Linked DNA regions of Homo sapiens: all the other regions are linked to region 2. The links are contacts of gene promoters, found by promoter capture Hi-C in human tissues and cell types (Jung and others, 2019). All regions are on one chromosome and are shown on one strand. The core of a region is centred on a gene start or on the middle of the fragment in contact, and the rest is flanking DNA. Distances in the headings are between cores, read along the strand shown. Region 1 overlaps GTPBP1 (GTP binding protein 1). Region 2 holds the start of APOBEC3F (apolipoprotein B mRNA editing enzyme catalytic subunit 3F). Region 3 overlaps DMC1 (DNA meiotic recombinase 1). Region 4 overlaps GTPBP1 (GTP binding protein 1).

Evidence for each region. The method cuts DNA at HindIII sites, captures the fragments that hold promoters and counts their contacts. A contact is called where the count stands out against the background at its distance.
Region 1: a contact is called between a fragment that was not itself captured here and the fragment with the promoter of APOBEC3F in region 2, in 1 of the 25 tissues and cell types used here (mesenchymal stem cells).
Region 3: a contact is called between a fragment that was not itself captured here and the fragment with the promoter of APOBEC3F in region 2, in 1 of the 25 tissues and cell types used here (spleen).
Region 4: a fragment that was not itself captured here is called in contact with the fragment with the promoter of APOBEC3F in region 2 in 1 of the 25 tissues and cell types used here (thymus).

Annotation. Positions count from the first base shown.
Region 1 is chr22:38,724,099-38,727,017 of GRCh38, forward strand. It overlaps GTPBP1 (GTP binding protein 1), which reads left to right. Exons shown (of 12, transcript NM_004286.5): 6 at 199-313; 7 at 1,908-2,052; 8 at 2,160-2,342. Among named protein-coding and RNA genes, the nearest start is that of GTPBP1, 20 kb to the left of the region's middle. The HindIII fragment of the contact is 3,648 bases long and covers 1-2,919 here.
Region 2 is chr22:39,039,328-39,042,573 of GRCh38, forward strand. It overlaps APOBEC3F (apolipoprotein B mRNA editing enzyme catalytic subunit 3F), which reads left to right and starts at 1,537. Exons shown (of 7, transcript NM_145298.6): 1 at 1,537-1,650. The coding sequence starts at 1,634. RefSeq lists enhancers at 1,347-1,406, 2,459-3,236. The HindIII fragment of the contact is 19,854 bases long and covers 1-3,246 here.
Region 3 is chr22:38,557,497-38,560,787 of GRCh38, forward strand. All of the region lies in intron 5 of DMC1 (DNA meiotic recombinase 1), which reads right to left. Among named protein-coding and RNA genes, the nearest start is that of DMC1, 11 kb to the right of the region's middle. The HindIII fragment of the contact is 5,518 bases long and covers 1-3,291 here.
Region 4 is chr22:38,707,117-38,710,016 of GRCh38, forward strand. It overlaps GTPBP1 (GTP binding protein 1), which reads left to right. Exons shown (of 12, transcript NM_004286.5): 2 at 1,729-1,840. Among named protein-coding and RNA genes, the nearest start is that of GTPBP1, 2.6 kb to the left of the region's middle. The HindIII fragment of the contact is 3,166 bases long and covers 1-2,900 here.

The DNA of each region.
Region 1 (2,919 bases), core at 80-2,579, 320 kb before region 2:
CTGTGCTTTTCTTACTCTAGCAGCACCCAAAGTTTTGATCCTCCTTTTTGCTTCTCCAGGCATTGTGGCATTTAACACTGGTCCATCTATCTGTCTGTCTCCTGCTTGCATCAGTAATGAGTGGACCCATCTTGCTCTTAAAGCCTGGCCAAAGAGAAGGCTGTGTCCCCCTAATTCTGTTCCATTGCACCCTTTAAGAAACCCTGAAGCTGTTACAGCGCCTGCTGAAGTCACCAGGCTGCCGGAAGATCCCCGTGCTGGTGCAGAGCAAAGATGATGTGATTGTCACAGCCTCCAACTTCAGCTCTGAAAGGTAACGCGTGGGGAGCGCACACTTCAGACAGGCACCCTTGCAGGCAGGACCACAGTGAGTGATGGGCCTGGAATGGCTGTCAGTTTGGGCATAAGGTCTCATGAAAACACCACATCAACACCTCTCCCTATTCAGAGATCGGAGGAAATAGAAGCTTCCAATCTTAGCGCAGGGTCTCCCAAGCCAGCATTGTTGCCCAGGGGTAATATCACGTAACCCAGATTGTGAGGTGCTGGCATTCCTGGGGTTGGCATCCCGGCTGAGACTTCAGTGTCCTTATCTGTGAAATGGGAATAACATTCCCTTCCCTGTAGGGCTCCCGTGAATGTTGGAAATGAAGTATGTAGAGCACTTAATGCCCTGCCTGGCTGATGGATGGTAAATACACAGCCATTTTTGTAACTCAGTTTTTTATACTGTTGTTCCTCAAAAGCTCACTAATCAGATCAGTTTTGGCATTTACTCATTAATGTATTCTTTCATTCCATAAATATTTATTGGATGTTTGTTCTGCGAGACTCTTCATCTAGATGTTGAGGATTCAGAGTTGAATTGAACACAATCCTTGTCCTCAAGGTGTTCAGCTCCTTGGTGAGAGATGCTCTCTCGATAATGGTGAACTCTACTAACTCTGCCTGTTTGCCCAGAGCTTGGTCTATAGCGCCAGGCCCAGAGCAGCCTGGCTTTTTGCCTATGCCTCTGCCCTGATGTGATCTTCAGTACCATCAGTTAGCCTGCAGAGGGGGCACATTTCAGACAGCCCCATTTGAGCTTGTTGATATTCTTGAGTGCCTATTCTGTGCAGGCACTATTCTAGGAGCTGTGGGGAATGTGTAATTCGTGATCTCAAGGATTTTAATTCAGTCACCCTGAATAGGAGCAATAGAGGCCATTTACAGGACTCTGATGAAAAATCAGATGCAGTCATGTGTAATAGAGAAAAAGCTCTCCAGGAACTCAGAGGAGTCAAGAGTGTCCACCCAGGAAGGATTTCATGGAAGAAGTGGTATTTGAGATGAGCTCTGAAGGGTGAGAGGGCCTGGTAGTTGCATAAAAGGGAAAGAATTCAGGAAGGAAGGTCAGAGTGAGCAAATCCACAAGGGCAGAAAAGTTCCAAAGTTTTAGGAGAAGGGAGAGTTCTCTGGTGTGGCTGGAATATAGGAATTTGCGAGAAGTGAATCTGCAGAGATGGCTACAAGCCCAAGCCAAAGGGCTGTGAGTGTTGGGAGAGGGATTTGGGGTATCTTCTCTGTGGTGGAAAGGCGGTTAAGGATTTTAAGCAAGCATGCGTGTGTTTTAGGAAGAAGCAGTCATGAGGTTCCAAACTAGGGCAGTGGTGGAGGACAGAGAGGAGAGGACAGGTGTCAGAGACAGAACTGAGTGAGAGAAGAAGGCCTCAGAGTAGGGCTGGCCAGGAGCTTGCTAGGTCAGGGCAAAGAGGTCAAGCCCTTGGAGGCAGGTGAGGGAGAGGTGGAGTCATGAATAGTGGCATCTGCTCCTCGAGCCCTGTTGCTGCCCCTGGTCTGTGTCAGGGCAGGACCTGGTCTCCTGAGTGCCTCTCTCCTTTTTTCCTTCCTCTTCTCCCTCTGCTTAGGATGTGCCCGATATTCCAGATCTCCAACGTTACAGGCGAGAACCTAGATCTGCTGAAGATGTTCCTCAACCTCCTCTCCCCCCGCACCAGCTACAGGGAGGAGGAGCCTGCTGAGTTTCAGATTGATGACACCTACTCCGTCCCGGTAAGTGGCTCTGGGCGGGTAGCTGGGTGGGCACTTCCTACAGTGGCATCAGGGGGTGGGTCTGTGCTGGGGATGCACTTATGAGGCCAGGGTCTTCTCCTTGGCAGGGTGTGGGGACAGTGGTTTCGGGGACAACACTGAGAGGCCTGATCAAGCTGAATGACACGCTGCTGCTGGGCCCAGACCCCTTGGGTAACTTCCTGTCCATTGCTGTCAAATCCATCCATCGCAAGCGCATGCCTGTCAAGGAGGTGCGGGGTGGCCAGACAGCATCCTTTGCGCTGAAGAAGGTGAGTAGCGATGATACTGAACGCTCCCCTCAGACTCCATCATGCTAGGCTCTTGGCCAGATGCCCTGCTCACCCACTCTAGTCCTCATGGCTGCTCTGCAAGGTCGGGATTACTGGCTTCATTTTTACAGATGAGGAAACTGAGGCTCAGAGCCCAGGGACTTGCCCAAGACACACAGCTTGTAAGTGCTAGAGCGAGGAATGCCTCCTTCTAAGCTCCGTTCCTCCCTCTGGTGCCTGAGCAGGGTGGCCTGAGCTCAGTGGTGAGGTCAAATAGGAGTATCCCTGCTGTGCAAGGATCCTTCTACATAGGACCATTGGGATCTGCGCCACATCCTCTTCCCATTCAGCCTTCTATCTCCTGGGGTTTGGGGTGGGTTGTAGTTCAGGGGTCACCTACCTTTACCCACCAACTAAATTAACCAGGAATAGTAGGACTTTCTTCCCCACAGTGGTCAGGTCATGCCCACCTGTTGTTCCCCCTGAATGCTTGCCTGCCTTTGCTTCCTCATGCGTCCTTCATGGCCGAGCAGCTGAAGTGCTGATTCCCGCATGAAGCCTTCCTGACCCCCAGTAG
Region 2 (3,246 bases), core at 287-2,786:
CTTAGCTCCGGCTCAGAGGCCTGACACTGACCTCAGATGATCCACCTGCCTCGGCCTCCCAAAATGCTGGGATTACAGGCGTGAGCCACTGTGCCTGCCTGGGATCATATGTTACACGCATGTTTGTTCAATAAGCATGGAGTGCAGCCACCCACATGAATATTCATAGCTCCTCCTATAGCCTGTTGAATATGTATGTTTAGCCAACCCCTTCAGCATAAAGCTCCTGCCCCAACCCCTCCTGCTTCTAAATGTCTGTCTCTGGTGTTTCCCAGAGGCTGCTCTTCCCAGGCTGCGGGATGGCTACCTTGCTGCCTGTCACCCTTAACAAGAAATAAAATCTCCTTTCCAAATTTATACATTGTGGCCAGGCGCGGTGGCTCACACCTGTAATCCCGGCACTTTGGTACGCCAAGGCGGGCGGATCTCCTCAGATCGGGAGTTCGAGATCAGCTGACCAACATGGAGAAACCCTGTCTCTACTAAAAATACAAAAATTAGCCAGGCATAGTGGTGGGCGGCTGTAAGCCTGACCAACATGGAGAAACACTGTCTCTACTAAGAATACAAAAATTAGCCTAGGCGTAGGGGTGGGTGCCTGTAATCGCAGTTACATGGGAGGCTGAGGCAGGAGAATCTTTTGAACCTGGGAGGCAAAGGTTGCGGTGAGCTGAGATTACGCCACTGTACTCCAGCCTGGGTAACAGAGCAAGTCTCCGTCTCAAAACAAACAAACAAACAAAAAAACACAAAAAAACAAAAGCAAACAAAAAAACCAAATGCATCCCTTGTGTAATTTTTAGGTCACCGCGCCATGGGAACACGCTACCAGGGGAAGGGAGCTGTGAGACGCGCAGGGAGGCTCCAGACAGGCTGGCCTGGGACACCAGCCACTGCTCTTCCATGACATGGGGACAAGAGGAGGCGAGAGCTCAGCCCACCAGGGAGGAACTCCGGGCAGGAGATGGGGAAGAAGGAGAAGCAGGAAGGAAAGAGCTCAGTGTGGGGGCGCGCATGGCATCCCGGTGGGACATCTGAGGCCCACACCCACCTGCTGTCCCTCCCTCCCACGGTGGCCTCCGAGGGTGAAGGCCTGGGGAGAGGCAGACACCTGGCCCTTTACTCTCCCTCCCTGTCCCCATGGCCGCTGGGTGGGGGCCGTCTCTGGGATGATCCCCGAGGGCAGGATCCGGGAGTCCCTGCGGAGGCATCAGCCTGTCTGTCTTGATGGTGGAGAGGAGGCTCCAGCTGGGCGGGACCACCAGGGGAGGGGCTTGTGCTCTGCTGGCTCAGCCTGGTGTGGACCCACCTCGCGGGCGCTGGCTGCAATGACTTTCTCTTTCCCTTTGCAATTGCCTTGGGTCCTGCCGCACAGAGCGGCCTGTCTTTATCAGAGGTCCCTCTGCCAGGGGGAGGGCCCCAGAGAAAACCAGAAAGAGGGTGAGAGACTGAGGAAGATAAAGCGTCCCAGGGCCTCCTACACCAGCGCCTGAGCAGGAAGGGGGAGGGGCCATGACTACGAGGCCCTGGGAGGTCACTTTAGGGAGGGCTGTCCTGAAACCTGGAGCCTGGAGCAGAAAGTGAAACCCTGGTGCTCCAGACAAAGATCTTAGTCGGGACTAGCCGGCCAAGGATGAAGCCTCACTTCAGGTACCGCTGCCCGCTCTACCCGCTGGGCCCCTCTGCTGCCCCTTCCTGCCTGGTGGCTCTGCTGGGCGTCAGCCCTGGCCTCCCCCTGCCCCAGCCCCAGCCCTGGGCTCCCTCCCCTCTGGCTCCCCTGCCCCCGCCACTCCCAGCCAGGCTCTTTTTCCTGCTCTGTGGTTGCCCCACTGCTGCTTCTGAATAGGCCGCTTCCCCACCTGCCCCAGCCCAGGTGCCCTGCTGAGACTCTCCCCCGCCACCGAAAGTCATGGCAGGGCTGGTGCTCCCGGCCCTGGGAGGGTGCTCCCTCTGTGTTCTTTCCGCCATTCCTGAACTCTGGAACTGGGAGAATTGAACCAAAGGATGATTAGAGCAATGTGGAATTTTGTTCACAGTGCTTTGATGGATTTTCTGTAACATTTACTTTGCTTAAATAGCAAGTCTTAGGAGAGGGTGTGGGGAGGGAATGGTCTCTGAAGCACAAGATAAATCGTATCTTCCAAGGATGTCTCCACTGTGGGCAGAGGAGGATGCAGATGACCCCAAACACACGCTCCTCCTCCACTATCAGCATTCACTGTTTATAAATGACACGAGTAACATGGAATATAGTGGCCGGGTGCGGTGGCTCACACCTGTCATCCCAGCACTTTGGTAGGCTGAGGTGGGTGGATTGCCTGAGGTCGGGAGTTCGAGACCATCCTGATCAACATGGATAAACCCTGTCTCTACTAAAAATACAAAATTAGCCGGGTGTGGTGGCGGGCGCCTATAATCCAGCTACTCCACAGGCTGAGACAGGAGAATCGCTTGAACCCAGGAGGCGGAGGTTGCAGTGAGCCGAGATCGCCCCATCGCACTCCAGCCTGGGCAACAAGAGCCAAATTTCGTCTCAAAAGAAAAAAAAACAAAAACAAAAAACATGGAATATATGGGAAAAAAACTCAATGATCAGGAGAAATGCTATTATTTTAAAATTTAGTAAGAAGAGAGTCTGGTCCCCAATGGCTCCCTCCTGCAAGGCTGGTGACACAGAGACTGGACAGGGCTGGTCTGGTAAGAGGCCCCAGCCCCATCCGTCCCCAGCTCTGTGGCCTGGGCAGGTTACCCCATCTCTCTGCGCCTCTGGCACCTCCTCTGTAAGATGGGAATGGCCCGTGCGGGCCTAGGGCAGCCTCACATGAGCTCACATCCGCGCAGCACTTAGAAGAGTGGCCTGGGCCTCAGAATTCGGTTCTACCATGATTTAACAATAGTAATATACAGAGGTGAAATGTCAGAAGGAACTGGCTGAAAGGTTAAAATCTATTATTTTGGGGTGAATAGTTTTATTCTCTCTCTCTTTTTTTTTTTTTTTTTTGAGATGGAGTTTCGCTCTTGTAGCCCAGGCTGGAGTGCAGTGGCACGATCTCGGCTCACTACAACCTCCGCCTCCCAGGTTCAAGCGATTCTCCTGCCTCAGCCTCCACAGTGGCTGGGATTACAGGCACCCACTACCACGCTTGGCTAATTTTTATATTTTTAGTAGAGACTGGGTTTCACCATGTTGGTGAGACTGGTCTCAAACTCCTGACCTCAAGTGATGGGCCTACCTCGGCCTCCCAA
Region 3 (3,291 bases), core at 263-2,762, 480 kb before region 2:
GGAGTTCAAGACCAGCCTGGATAACATGGCGAAACCCAGTCTCTACAGAAAATACCAAAATTAGCCAGGTATGCTGGCCTGTGCCTGCAGTCCCATCTACTCAGGCTGCAGTGAGCCGTGATGGAGCCACTGCATTTTAGCCTGGGTGACAGAGTGAGACCGTGTCTCAAAAAATAAAATAGAATATAAATAAATAAATTTGGTAATAACCTGTGCATATTTGCTATTTGAGACCTTTTAACGTTTAAGATAATTTGACCTTTTTGTAATGGATTGGCCTCTGACTGATTAAATGGTACATTCCTTCAATTTTCAAGTTGATAACTAATTTTATAAATAGTATTTGAACATTTAATGGTGCCTACAACTCACTATACTTCTAAATTTATTTGAGTTACAAAAGATATTTAGGTAATTGGGAAGATTTTGCTGTTAATAATTAGATAATTAGACAAAGTTCTTTTTTTTTTTTTTTTTTTTTTTTGAGACGGAGTCTCACTCTGTCGCCCAGGCTGGAATGCAGTGGCGTGATCTTGGCTCACTGCAACCTCTGCCTCCTGGATTCAAGCAATTCTCTGCATCAGCCTCCTGAGTAGCTGGGATTACAGGCACCCGCCACCATGCCCGGCTAATTTTTGTATTTTTAGTAGAGACAGGGTGATCCTGTCTTTAGTAGAGACCTTGTGATCCACCCGCCTCAGCCTCCCAAAGTGTTGGGATTACAGGTGTGAGCCAGTGCACCTGGCCAACAAATAAAGTTCTTAAAGAAAATACAATACACTAAATGTATAAACATAATTAAAATGTTTAAGAGAATTTAATCTTGTTATAAAAGCACCCTTAAAATGTGCTAGATTTATAAAGGGACTTAAAGCTTAAGGAAAAATGTATAATATTTTAATTAATTAAATATTAATTTTTAAAAACCTAGCTCCTGGCTGGGCGCAGTGGCTCACATCTGTAATCCCAGTACTTTGGGAGGCCGAGGCAAGTGGATCATCTGAGGTCAGGAGTTCGAGGCCAGCCTGGCCAACATGGTGAAACTCTGTCTCTACTAAAAATACAAAAATTAGCCCGGTGTGGTGGCACACACCTGTAGTCCCAGCTACTCAGGAGGCTGAGGCAGGAGAATTGCTTGAACCCAGGAGGCGGAGGTTGCAGTGAGCCGAGATCATGCCACTGCACTCCAGCCTGGGCGACACAGCAAGACTCTGTCTCAAAAGCAAACAAACAACAAAAAAAAACCTAGCTCCTGAATGATCTTTTCTGTTCTCAAGAGCAAACATCAAGGGCACCAGAAAACTCACAATAACAGTAATTATTTCTTTAGCCCAGTGGTTCTTAGACCACCATGTGGTAGAGTAACTAAAGAAAATCAGATTGTCATTTGAATCAAGTGTTTTGTTGATCAACCTCATTTTGACCAATTTGCCTAGGGGTAGGATTTCTCCAAGCCTCTTCCTTAACTTTACTTGAAAAAAGGGTATGTGATTTTAAAAGTCTGGGACAATGCTGGGTTAAACAGGTATTTTCTTTTTCTTTTTTTCTTTTGAGACTGAGTCTCACTCTATTGCCCAGGCTGGAGTGCAGTGGCACGATCTCGGCTCACCACAACCTCCATCTCCCAGGTTCAAGCGATTCTCCTGCCTCAGCCTCCCGAGTAGCTGTGACCACAGGCACATGCCACCATGCCCGGCTAATTTTTTGTATTTTTAGTAGAGACGGGGTTTCTCCATGTTGGTTAGGCTGGTCTCGAACTCCTGATCTCAAGTGATCCACCCGCCTCGGCCTCCCAAAACGCTGGGATTAAAGGTGTGAGCCACCGTGCCCAGCCATTTTTTTGGTAATTTTTAGTAGAGACAGGGTTTCACCATGTTGGCCAGGCTGGTCTAGAACTCCTGACCTAAGGTGATCCACCCATCTTGGCCTCCCGAAGTGCTGTGATTACAGGTGTGGGCCACCGTGCCCTGCCAAAACAGGTGTTTTGTGTCACTGCAGGATTTCACAGGCTAGTGTGCGCTGTGACTCTTCAAGAAGAATATATAGTATATGGTACTTCTCAAACTTATTCACTATTTGTTTATTCATTCATTTAGTCATTCAACAAATATTTATTGCACACCTAGTTTATGCCAGGGATTGTTTTGTGCACTTGGGATAAACTAGAGAACAAAAGAGACAGAATTTTTTTCTCTCACGAAGTTTACAATCTAGTGAGAGATTAGATAATAAACACAAATAGGCCAGGCGCCGGTAGCTCACACCTGTAATCCCAGCACTTTGGGAGGCTGAAGCGGTGGATCATGGGATCAGGAGTTCAAGACCAGCCTGGCCAAGATGCTGAAACCCTGTCTCTACTAAAAGTACAAAAATTAGCCGGGCGTGGTGGCGGGCACCTGTAATCCCAGCTACTCGGGAGGCTGAGGCAGGTGAATCGCTTGAACCTGGGCAGCAGAGGTTGCAGTGAGCTGAGATCATGCCACTGCACTCCAGCCTGGGTGACAGAGCAAGACTCCGTCTGAAAAAAAAAATAAATAAATAAAATAAAAAATAAACACAAATAAGTAAAATATGTAGTACATCAGATGTTATTAAATGGTATGGATAAAAATAAGGCCAGGAAAGGGGACAAGGAAGACAGAGTATGAAAGTTAGGAGGTTATACTGTCAAATAAAGTGATCAGAGAAGTTCTCATTGAGACATGGACATTTTTGCCAAGACCTGAAAGAGATGACAGCAAGCCATGTAGATCTAAGAGGAAAGAATATGATAGGCAGAGGCAGCACAAAGTGCAAAGGCCCTGATGCAGGAGTGTATCTGACATATTCTGGGAATAGCAAAGAGGTCACTATGGCTGGTACATAGAAAACTAGAAAAGTGAAATATTAGAGATGGGAGAGGACTTTGGCTTCTTTTCTGAGTGAGAGGGGGAATCATCAGGGTGTTATGAGCCACTGCATTCCAGCCTAACCTATGTTTTAAAGTGACCATTCTGGCTCTTTAGTGAATTAAAAAAAAAAACAAAACAGTAGGGGCAAGGTCTCAAGGAGGGAGGTTAATTAGAGGTTATTATAATAATCCAGGGGAGATATTAATAGGTGGTAGTTTAGTCCAGTGAGGTAACAGTAGAGGTGGTAAGAAATAGTTGAATTATATTCTCACTCTCTATGTACACACACACATATACACATAAAAATAACATATATTATATATTAATCTTTTATTATAGAAAATATCAAGCATAAACAAATGTAGAAAAAAAATAATGAACCATCGTGTCTATCACTCAG
Region 4 (2,900 bases), core at 183-2,682, 330 kb before region 2:
AAGAAGACACCTAATAGTGCCTGATGCATACTAGAGACTCAGTAAATGTTTGAAGTGAACGAGATAGTTCCTAATTTCCTGTGCAGATTAAATAGCAGTGGGTGAAAGATAGAACACCAATACCACCACTTACATTTGTAGGATAGTTACGATAGACATTTTATCCAGCTTTGAAAATGTTTGTGACTTTTTATAGTTTATGGCGGCAAATTTGCATGAAACTTGGTCCTAAACTGGGGAGGAACTTTCCCTGCAACCTAAGCAAGTTATTTTCAACTGCTCTTTGCCATTGTAGTCTCAGGTGAGCACTTGGAAGCCAGCTAGCCTGTCAAAGTTGGTCCTGTCTTGTGCCTGTAAGGCCATAATGAGGATGGCCAAACTTAGAGAGAGGGATGGCCAGGACGATGTAAAAGACCCAGGAAACATCCAGGTTACAATTACAAGCTCTGATGAGTCAACTCAGGAAGTTACAAGATTATGGACCTGACTCAAGAGCAAACAAACTGGATGTCAACACATGGTCAAGGTGCTGAAGAAACATGATAGGAAATTGCAGGGCAGAGTTGCAAAGACGGTAGTACCTTCATTTCTTGACCAGCTCATTTAATATTCCTAGAAGTGTTATTTCATCACATAGCTGGGGAAGTCCTCCTTACAATTAAAAAAAATCATATGTATATTAATATCGATGATATCAAAAAGAAAAAGTGATGGTGTGGAGGGAGAGAAGGGTTGGGTTGAATAGATTGATTCCGGAGGAACAGATTAGAAGCGAAAGGTTCATGTCCTTACGATAGAAAATGTGGAGACCTAAGGCTCCGAGAGCTTCCAAAGGGAGAAACACTTAGTGAATAGTGGTGGCTAGTTTCATCCAACAAGGTTTTTCTGGGAATGATTGGGTGAAGAAAACCTTGTAGTTTCACATTTATTGAGCTGTGGACTAGATGCTTTACATGTTATTATATTTGCTCTTTACAGTGGCCTTAGGATGCAGGTAGTATTAGCTCCGTTTTATAGATTGAAAAACTGAAACTCAGAGTGGTTAAATTCTTTGTCCAAGGTCACACAGGAGTGGTTAGAGAATGGGGTCTGATTGCCAAATGGCTTACCCAAGTAAATGGTTGACACTTCAATGTTATTGGCAGACATTTGCAAAATGACGGTGCTAATACTCCTCGTAGTGGTAATGGTGATGGTGCTTTGTTGATGAAGATGAGTCTTGCAGGCAGTTTTCATTCCCAAATATTCAATATAGCTAAGACAAGATAGAACAGAATTCTTTTGTTATCCTGGAAGCCACTGGCCTGTGGGTGGAGGGCATGGAGGTATATGAGGTATATGTCTTGTGGGCTTCCAGATGCCAACTGCAGGTAGAAGACTTTGGCATGTAGATGGAAAGCACTGCGCTTTCTATCCACAGTGCCATATTCTCAGTCACTTGGGTCCTGCCCTTCCTGTTAAGCAGCAGGAGGCAGGCTGCTTGTGCCCTCTTTACCATGGGTTATGGCTCAGACATACACATTGTAGTATATTATTTGGCTCATATAAGGCCTGAGGCTCAAAGGCTACTTCAGGAGAAGCAGAGAGGGCATGAAGGGGCTGTGCAGCCTTTTTAGATGAGGGTGCTATGGGGTTCAGTCAGGATCTTTGGTTAGGCTATATTGATCAGCTTTGGCTGTGGTGCTCTTCTAGCAAGTGTGGTCCTAAGGCTGTTGGTTTCTTTTCTAGCTGGTTCTAGTGAGCCCTACATCAGAGCAGTATGACAGCCTACTTCGGCAGATGTGGGAGAGGATGGACGAGGGATGCGGAGAGACCATATATGTCATTGGGCAGGGATCAGGTGAGCATAGTTTTCCTTTCACTTTATTTTTAAAAATTATTGGGCCGGGTGCGGTGGCCCTGCCGCCTGTAATCCCAGCACTTTGGGAGGCCAAGACGGGTGGATCACCTGAGGTCAGGAGTTCGAGACCAGCCTGGCCAACATGGTGAAACCCCATCTCTACTAAAAATACAAAAAATTAGCCGGGCGCTAATTAGTGGTGGCAGGCGCCTGTAATCCCAGCTACTTGGGAGGCTGAGGCAGAAGAATTGCTTGAACCTGGGAGGCGGAGGTTGCAGTGAGCCAAGATCGTGCCATTGTGCTCCAGCCTAGGCGACAAGAGTGAAACTCTGTCTCAAAAAAAAAAAGAAATTATTTAGAGCACATTTTCCCCGCTTTTTGAACTTTTCTGCTTATGTGTCTCAGTTACAGTGATTCTTTAGTGTCTGCAGAACTGTTTGGAGTACATAAAAGTACAAAGTGAATGTTAATTCTGACCTTAGTGGCCATAATATGCTTGACTTTCCAAGCAGTTTTACAGATGCTTCCTTTTTACCTCCAGTACTCTCTATTTGCATAAGAGGAAATGAAGCACAAAGCAAAGGAACTTCTTGTCTAAGGTAATAGGGCAAGCCATAGTTAGGTCTAGAATTAAGCTTATTCCTGGGCAGCTGGAGGTCTTCCCTTCCAGGCCCTGTTTACAGATCCCATTGCGACTTATTTTCTGCTTAGCAGAGGACCTCCGTGATTCTTCTTGGTGTCAGCAGAGAAAAGATGCCCAGAATTCCTCTCTTGTCAGGCTCCTTGCCCCAGACCCTACTGACTATTTAGTCTGGATAGCTGGGATAACAGAGGTCGTCCTCTCTCCCCACTGGATCCTGTCAGACACATAGGCTTGTAACCATTCTGAAAGGGACTGGTTATTGTTCTCCAAGCTGCTTATTCCTTGTAACAGAACCTACTATTTTAGAGGAAGGCAGCCCTCACAACAATCCCAGAGTATATTATGGTTTCTTCCCCTGGTCACTCCTAGTTAGCAACTTCAATACAAGACCTGCTTACCTTCATCTTCATTATGGGA